Regions from separate parts of the Homo sapiens genome. Here region 1 is linked to region 2. Evidence: promoter capture Hi-C in 16 types of primary human blood cells and fetal thymus (Javierre and others, 2016). All regions are on one chromosome and are shown on one strand. Each heading gives the region's core, a stretch centred on a gene start or on the middle of the fragment in contact. The rest is flanking DNA. Distances are from core to core; before and after follow the strand shown.

The links. Contacts are between HindIII fragments. The CHiCAGO score rates a contact against its expected background, and 5 or more counts as called.
Region 1: a contact is called between a fragment that was not itself captured here and the fragment with the promoter of MFSD2B in region 2, in 2 of 17 cell types (naive B cells and total B cells). The highest score is 6.5, in naive B cells.

Annotation. Positions count from the first base shown.
Region 1 is chr2:23,850,949-23,855,557 of GRCh38, reverse strand. The region is part of intron 13 of ATAD2B (ATPase family AAA domain containing 2B); the gene reads left to right. Among named protein-coding and RNA genes, the nearest start is that of ATAD2B, 74 kb to the left of the region's middle. RefSeq lists an enhancer at 4,511-4,560. The HindIII fragment of the contact is 4,900 bases long and covers 206-4,609 here.
Region 2 is chr2:24,007,816-24,012,018 of GRCh38, reverse strand. MFSD2B (MFSD2 lysolipid transporter B, sphingolipid) reads right to left here and starts at 1,934. Exons shown (of 14, transcript NM_001346880.2): 1 at 1,827-1,934. The coding sequence starts at 1,922. The HindIII fragment of the contact is 4,987 bases long and covers 310-4,203 here.

The DNA of each region.
Region 1 (4,609 bases), core at 1,406-3,905, 160 kb after region 2:
GTGTGTTTAAGTTTCTAAGGTAACACTGTACTGTTTTCCAAAGTGGTTTTACCATTTTTATTTTCCTATAACGTATGATAATTTGAGTTGTTCCTCATCCTTGCCAACAATTGGTGGTGTTAACTGTCTTTAACTTTAGCCATCCTAGTGGGTGTACAGTAATGGATTTAATTTGCATTAATAGTAATACAAATAATATTAAGCTTTAATATTAATCCAATAATATTGAGCATCTTTGTGTTTATTGCCTGTTTATATATTTTCATTTGTGAAATGTCTGTAAATCTTTTGCGCCATTTTTTAAAACTAGAAATTAGATTGTGTGTCTTGTTGTGTTGTAGTCCTTGTGTTTTTTTTTTTTTTTTGAGACAGAGTCTTGCTCTGTTGCCCTGTTGGAGTGCAGTGGTGCGATCTCAGCTCACTGCAACCTCCGCACCCCGCATTGAAGCGATTCTCCTGGCTCAGCCTCTCGAGTAGCTGGGATTACAGGTGTGCACCACCATGCCCGGCTAATTTTGTATTTTTAGTAGAGACAGGGTTTTGCCATGTTGGCCAGACTGGTCTCGAACTCTTGACCTCAAGTGATCTGCCTGCCGTGGCCTCCCAAAGTGCTGGGATTACAGGCATGAGACAATACCCCTGGCCCAGTCTTTGTTTTGAAATTTTTTTCCAGTGTTCTGGCTTGTATCTTTGTTTGCTTAGTTAGGACTTTTGAAGAGTCAGGATTTGAATTTTGATAAAGCCACCATATAGATTTAAAAAATGTATCTGTGCCTTTTGTGTTCTGCTTGAGAAAAGTTGCCTAAATAAGTGTGGCAATAATTTTCTTGGATGTTTTCTTTGAAAATATTAATAGCGTTAGCTTTTTTTTTTTTTTTTGAGACGAAGTCTCGATCTTGTGCCCCAGGCTGGAGTGCAATGGCACGATCTTGGCTCACTGCAACCGCCGCCTGCCAGGTTCAAGCGATTCTCCTGCCTTGGCCCCCCGAGTAGCTGGGATTACAGGTGCCTGCCACCACGCCTGGCTAATTTTTGTATTTTTAGTAGAGGTGGGGTTTCACCATATTGGCCAGGCTGGTCTAGAACTCCTGACCTCAGGTGATCCACCCACCTCGGCCTCCCAAAGTGTTGGGCTTACAGGCATGAGCCACTGTTCCCAGCCAGTGTTAGCTCTTAATATTTAAGTCAATGATTCATTTTACGTTAATGTTTGTGTATCAGTAAGAGGTGAGGGTTTAAGTTAATTTTTGTAGATAGTTTAAGGTATGGACTGAAGTTTATTTTTTTAATACAGGTATTCTTTTTTTTTCTTTGAGACGGAGTGTCACTCTGTTGCCCAGGCTGGAGTGCAGTCGCGCGATCTCAGCTCACTGTAGCCTCCACCTCCCAGGTTCAAGTGATTCTTGTGCCTCAGCCTCCTGAGTAGCTGGGATTACAGGTGTGTGCTACCATGCCTGGCGAATTTTTGTATTATTAGTAGAGGTATGTTTCACCATGTTGGCCAGGCTGGTCTCGAACTTCTGACCTCAGGTGATTCTCCTGCTTCGGCCTCCCAAAGTGCTGGTATTACAGGCATGAGCCACCATGCCCAGCCTATTTTTTTATACAGATACTCATTTGTTCCAGAACCATATATTGAAGAGTTTACTTTGTTAAATTTCTTGGCACGTCTTTGACAAAAATTGACCATATAAATGTGTGTCTATTTCTAGATTTGTTAGTTGATTCCATTGATCTACAGGTCTATCCTTATACCACTGTCTTGATTAATGTTCATTTTAGTATAAGTCCTCCAAATTTGTTCTTTTTCAGAATTGTTGTAGTCATCTATTATCTTTCCATTTACATTTCTAAAGCCTCTTGTCAGTTTCTTTAGAAAAGACTGTTGGGATTTATTTGGGATTGCAATTAATCCTTCGATCTATTTGGGAAGAATTGCATCCTTATTCGTCTTTCAGTCTATGAACATGGTAATTCTGTTCATTTATTTAGGTATTCTTTAATTTCCTTTTCCTGTGTCTTATGGTTTTAGCATAAGGATCTTAGGCATCTTTTGTTTAATGCATCCCTAAATACTTTATTGTTCATTTAATGTGAATGGAGTTTTGAAAGAAAATTTATTTTCTAATTGCTTACTGCTGGTTTATAAAAATACAACTGAGTTTATAGACTTTGTATCCACAACCTTGCTAAATTCATTTGTTAGTTCTATTAGCTATTTTGTGGTTTCCTTACGGTTTTATACATATACCTTATCTGCAAATAAAGGTACTTCTACTTCTTCCTTTCCAATCTATGTCTTTTATTTCTTTTTCTTATTTCTTTGGCTAGAATTCAGTTAAATAGTAATGGTGATAATGGAAATCACTGCCTGTTTCCTTCATTGGCTGTAAAACATTGAGACTTTAACCATTGAATGTGATTTTAACTAAGTTTTTCATAGGTGCCCTTTATTACATTGAGGGATTTCCACTATATTCCTAGTTTGCTGTGAGAGTTTATTTTACTGGGATAGAGTACTGAACTTTGTAACATATTTTTTTTTCTGTCTCTTTTGAATTGATCATATGGCTTTTCTCCTGTATTCTATTAAGGTAGAGCATTATTTTGATTGAATTTTAGATTTTTTTTTTTTTTTGGAGATGGAGTCTCGCTCTGTCGCCCATGCTGGAGTGCAATGGCGTGATCTCGGCTCACTGCAACCTCCACCTCCTGGGTTCAAGTGATTCTCTTGCCTCAGCCTCCCGAGTACCTGGCATTACAGGTGTCTGCCACCGTGCCTGGCTAATTTTTGTGTTTTTAGTAGAGACAGGGTTTCACCATGTTGGTCAGGCTTGTCTTGAACGCCTGACCTCAGGTGATCCACCTGCCTCGGCCTCCCGAAGTGCTGGGATTACAAGTGTGAGCCACTGCGCCTGGCCTGAATTTTAGATAGTAAACTAACTTTGCATTCTTAGAATAAACCTCACTTGCTCATAATATATTGTCTTTCTTAAAAAATTATTGGATTCCACTTGCTAATATAAAAAGTTTTATTATCTGTATTAATGAGATTTTGATCTGTAATTACTCTTAAAATATCTGCATCTGGTTTTGGAATCAGGTAATTTTGATGTGTATTAGATGAGATATACACTGGGTGTGATGGTGCATGCCTGTAATCTCAACACTTTGAGAGGCTGAGGCAGCAGGATCTCTTGAGTCTAGGAGTGCAAGAGCAGCCTGGGCAACATAGTGAGACCCTGTCTCTTAAAAAAAAAAAGATGAGATGGCATTCCCTCTTTCTCTATTTTCTGAAAGTGTTTGTGTAAGTTTGATGTTATTCATTTCTTAAGTGTTTGAGAGAATTCACCAGTGAAAATACCTGGGCCTGGAGTTTTGTTTATGGAAAGGTTTTTGATTACAAGTTAAATTTCTTCAGTTGATACAGGGCTGTTCAAGTTTTCTATTTATTCTTAGGTCAGTTTTGTTAGTTTGGTAGTTTATCTTTAAAGGAATTTGTTCATTTCACCTAAGTCAAGAAATTTACATACATTTTTTCCTACTATTCTGTTATCTCCTTAATGCCTAAATAGTCTGCGGTAGTATTCTTTTCATTTCCGATGGTGATAACCTGTGTTTTCTCTTTTTTTTTTTCTTGATTACTCCGGCTAGAGGATTATCAATTTTATTGGTCCTTTCTCCCCCAAAGAGGCAACTTCTGTTTTCATAGATTTTCTACTATTATTTTTGTTTCCAATTTTATACTACCTTTTTTCTTATATTTTTAAAAATTAGTAGACTGAGGGGGATTTGTAGGCAGAGTATAAAAGATTTTTTAGGGCAGTGAAAATAGTCTGTGTTATACTGTAAGAGTGGATCCACATCATGATATGTTTGTCCAAACCCATAGAATGTATATCATCAAGCGTGAACCTTAATGTAAACTGTGGACTTTGTAGATTGTGATGTGTCATTGTAGGTTCATCAGTTGAAATAAGTGCACCACTCTGTTGGGGCATGGGTATACATATGAAGGGGCAGGCGGGGGACGTATGAAAGTCTCTGTATTTCCTTCTCAATTTGGCTGTTAACCTAAAACTGCCCTAACAAATGGTCTTAAAAATAGACTATTCATGACTGGGCACAGTGGCTCACACTTGTAGTCCCAGCACTTTGGGAGGCCAAGGACAGTGGATCTCTTGAGCTCAGCAGTTTGAGACCAGCCTGGGCAATGTGGCAAAACCGTGTCTCTACTAAAAGTACAAAAATTAGTTGGGTGTGGTGTGCCTCTCGTCCTAGCTACTTGGGAGGCTGACGTGAGAGGATCACTTGAGCCTGGGGAGGTCAAGGCTGCAGTGAGCCACAATCGTGCCACCGAACTACAGCCTAGGTGAGAGAGTGAGGCCCTGTCTCAGAAAACAAAAAATCTCTATAAAACTGGGTAGCTTAGAAATAGCAGAACATTATTTGTCATATTTCTGGAGGCTGGGATGTCCAAGATCAGGGTGCCAGCAGATTTAGTGTCTGGTGAGGACCTGCTTTCTGGTTCTGATGACTTCTCTTGTGTCCTTAAATGGTAGAAAAGACCAGCTAGCTTTTTCAGGTCTCTTTTATGAAGGCAGGAATC
Region 2 (4,203 bases), core at 685-3,184:
GCTCTCCTTCAGCCACGCCGGGCTCCTTCCTATTCCTCAAAATCATCAAGTCTGTTGCTGCCTCAGGGCCTTTGCCCTTCCCATTCCTCTGCCTGGAAGGTGACTCCTTGTCATTCTGGTTTGATGTCACCAGCTTAAATGTCACCTCCTCCAAGAGGCATTCCCTAACCTCTCACCTCTCTCAGTTGTACTTACCGCCTGCTATATTTTCATTTAGTTCCTGCCTCTCCCTACAGGAATGTAAGCTCTCTGAGAGCATGAACTCCACCTTTTATTTATCATGGTGTTTCCAGTACCTAGAACAAAGCTTGGTATACAGTAGGTGCTTAGTATATATCCGTTGAAGCAATAAATGGCCATGAAGACCCTGTGTAAAGTGCTGTTTCTTTGGAAGAAGCTGGGCTCTTTTCTCATCGTTTGCTGGGGGCTGGAGGGAGTGGAGATGACATGGCTTCACCCATTTCCACATCTTGCAGGACACCCCAGCAGGCTCTTGTGAAGGGAAGGTCTCCCCAGATAAGGGTTTATCACACTTTGCACACTCTTCCTACCCACAGGGGAAAACCACACTGGGGGCAGGATGATTCTTTTCTGACATTTGTGTGAACATCATTTCAGCTTCCAGAAAACTTTAAGAACAGGCAGAATTCAACGTGACAGTCCCCCTCTCCCCCTAATGGGGACTCTTGTATCCCCCAAAACAGGCCTAGCAAGTTTTTAGAACTTTAGAAAGAACTTCCAAGTGAAGCCAGGGATATGATCCCATCTTGCCGTCTTGAGGATGACAGTTTTACCGAAAGTCATAAAAGCCCGGTACAGCTGTACAGTGAGCTGTACAAGGAGAAGCCCCTTGGGAGGGGCGGCTCCGGGCGAGGGGCGCAGCCCTGCTATCTCTAGCTGCGTGACCCAGGGCAGGGCACCTCGGTCTCCTTGGAGTGACCGGGGCTGCCACCCCTCGGAGAGTCGTAAGAGGATTCCACGCCGGAACTTCATCAGCAATGCGAGTGTTTCCCTCTTGCTGTTAATCTCACCCTGAATTTCTAAGTTTCCCTGGGAAGTGAGAGTCCCCGGAGAGCCCCTTCATCTCACCTCACTTTCTTGTGGGATGCAATCCTGTGCTCCCAGGTGCCTCGTAGGAAGCCCTGAACAGGCTGGGGGCTGAGGTGGTCAGGGGAGGCCACAGAATGCCCTGGGCACGAGCAGGGAGCAGGCGCGTTCAGTGAGGCCCAGGAAGCCCCAGGCCCCTTGCTCCGTCCAGCACAGCCCCACTGGCCAGCACGGCCCGGCGGCATCGGGCAAGGGACAAGGGGCCCCGAAGACCCCGCCGCTCCCACCTGCCCTCCTCCCTTCTTGTCGGAGCCCATGGCCAGGACCTTCCCTGAGGCTGCCTCCAAGGGGAGCCTGGTGCCTGGGCGAGGCCAGGGTCTGGGAGGGAGGCCGAGGCCACAGCAGCTGCCTGAGGTCGGGAAGGACGCAGCCTCCCCAGGCGCTTCAGAAAGCCCTGCCTGCCCAGAGCTCGGGGACCCCGGGAGGACCTGCGGTGGCACGGACAAGACCCCTAAGCCGGGAATCAGGACAGCAATGACCACGCATCCCCAAGTTACTTCCTTGGCTAGGGCTAGGCTTCCCGTCCTAGTCTCTTTCCGGCGCCGGCACCTACCAGCCTCCCCGCTCCCAGCCGTGTAACCCCGCGAGGGCAGCCCCTGAGCTGGCAGGTTTGGGCCGAGCCCCTCCGGGCTGCCCCCAGCTGGAAAAGGGGCTGCGAGGCGACGCCCTGGAGCTCCCCGAGGACGCAGCCCCTTCCCGGTCCCCGCCGCCCCGCTCACCTCTCGCCCTCGCTTGGCGCTCCCCGGGCCGGGCTCTGGGGCGTGCGGCTCCGGCTGCGGGGACCCCTTGGCGGCTGGTGCAGGGGGCGCCGCCATTGCCACCGCAGCGCCGCCCGCGGCCGTTGCCCTCGGGGTTATCGCCCTTGGGAGGGGCGGTTCTGGGCTAGGGGCGCGGCGCGAGTGGCTGCTGGCAACGCGGGGGAAACGCAGAAACCGCGAAGGGCACCCCAAAGGGAAACAGCGAAGAACCAAAATCCGCGGGGGGAAAGGCCCGGCAGGCCCTCAGGACCGTTCTCCTTGGGGTGGATCCCCGGGGGCGTGAGCGCCCGCAGACGGCGGCCCTGCGCGCTAAGGGCTCCGCCAGACCGCTGGGGTGACCGCGGGCAAGCAGCAGCTCCCCTGCAAAATGAAGCAAGAGGCCCGCTCGTTCAGGCTGGACCATGGCTGAACAGGCATTCCGCCGGCTACACATGATGCCCAACGCCTGAAATATACATTGTCGAGTCTCCTATACAGACCACGGGGATGGCCAGTAACTAAGTTCTGGCCAGCGAATAAAAGCAGGTGGCACAGGCCAACATTCCAGAAAAGTCCTTAAAAGGGAAGGGGGGTGACAGCAGGTAGCTAGTCAGCCTCGAAAAGGGCAGGAGAGGGCCACGCTTCCAACCAGGTACGTCAGGCAACCATCAGGCGACAGTCAGGCGGTTGTTATGCTCCCTCTAAAATGATCATTGATCCAGCGGGGCCAGGGAAAGGCAGTCTCCCAATAGATAGAGAAAACCTGAAACTGGTGATCAGCTTCTCGGTAAGATCTCAGGAGCTGGGCAAGTGGGCTTACACAAATTGCGGAGTTTAACTGACATGTGACCCTCGAAGGACACCGGACTGGTAAGGGAAGAACGCCTCCAGTGAGCATGGGTACAACTCCAGTATACACAGTGTGCACACTCCCCTCCCAAGTGCTGGCAGACCACTGCCCATGCAGGCAGGCCTCCCAAGGGAAGAATCAGGGGAGAAGGGATGCAAGACCCCAGAAGTATGCCAATGCATAAGACCCCAGGTCAAAAGGTCAAACTGTGCGCTTCTTTTTCAGGTCACCCGCTTGGCCCTCTTCCAAGTGTACTTTCCTTCCTTCCATTTCTGCTGTAGAGCTTTTTAATAAACTTTTATTCCTGCTCTAAAACTTGCCTCAGTCTCTCCTTCTGCCTTATGCCCCTCAGTGGAATTCTTTCTTCTGAGGAGGCAGGAACTGAGGTTGCTGCAGACCCATATAGATTCACTCCTGCTGACATATTTTGGTGCCACGTGACTCAGATACCTTCCACCAGTAACAGGGGTACACATTAACTAAAAATGCATCATAGACCTAGAATGTAAAACTTATGAAAAAACAGGAGCAAGGGACAGGCACGGTGGCTCATGCCTGTAATCCCAGCTACTCGGCAGGCTGAGGCAGGAGAATCGCTTGAACCCGGGAGGCGGAGATTGCAGTGAGCCAAGATCGTGCCACTGCATTCCAGCCTGGGTGACAGAGGGAGACTCTGTCTCAAAAACAAAAACAAAAACAAAACCAACCAAACACAAAAAACCCAGAAGCAACTCTTCATCATATTGGGCCAGGCAATTGTTTCTTAGGACGCCAAAAGCACAAGCTGGATGAACTACAAAAGTTTTCAAAATGAAAACCTTTGTGCTGTAAACGATTCCAACAAGTGGGTATAAAGACAACCCACAGAATGGGAGAAAAGGGATTTGTATTGGAATCAACTTTCACAACTCAACAATTAAAAGACAATCCAATTCTAAAATGGGCAAAGAATTTGGATATTTCTCTAAAGATATACAAATGAACAGTAAGCACATGGAAATACAAATCGAAACTACAGTGAGACACCATTTCATATCCACAGGGTGGCTGTAATTAAAATGAGACAAGTATTGGGGAGGATGTGGAGAAATCAGAACCCCTATACACTGCTAGTGGGAATGGAAACTAGTGACAGTCCTTTGGAAAAGTTTGGCAGTTTCTCAAAGTAAAACGTGGAATTACCACATGACCCGCAATTCCACTCTTAGGTGTATACACCCTACAGAAATGAAAACATGTTCACATAAAATCTTGAACATGAATGTTCATTAGCAGCATTCATATATATATACATATATATATAATGTGTGTGTGTATATATATATGCCAAAGAGGACACAAGCCAATGTCCATCAGGTTATGAATGAATAAATATAATGTGGTATATCCATACAATGGACTACTGTTGGGCAAGAAAAAGGAATGAAGGACCAATGCATGCTACAACACAGATGAACCTTGATGACAGTATGCTAAGTAAAAGAAGCCAGTCACAAGACTACAAATTGT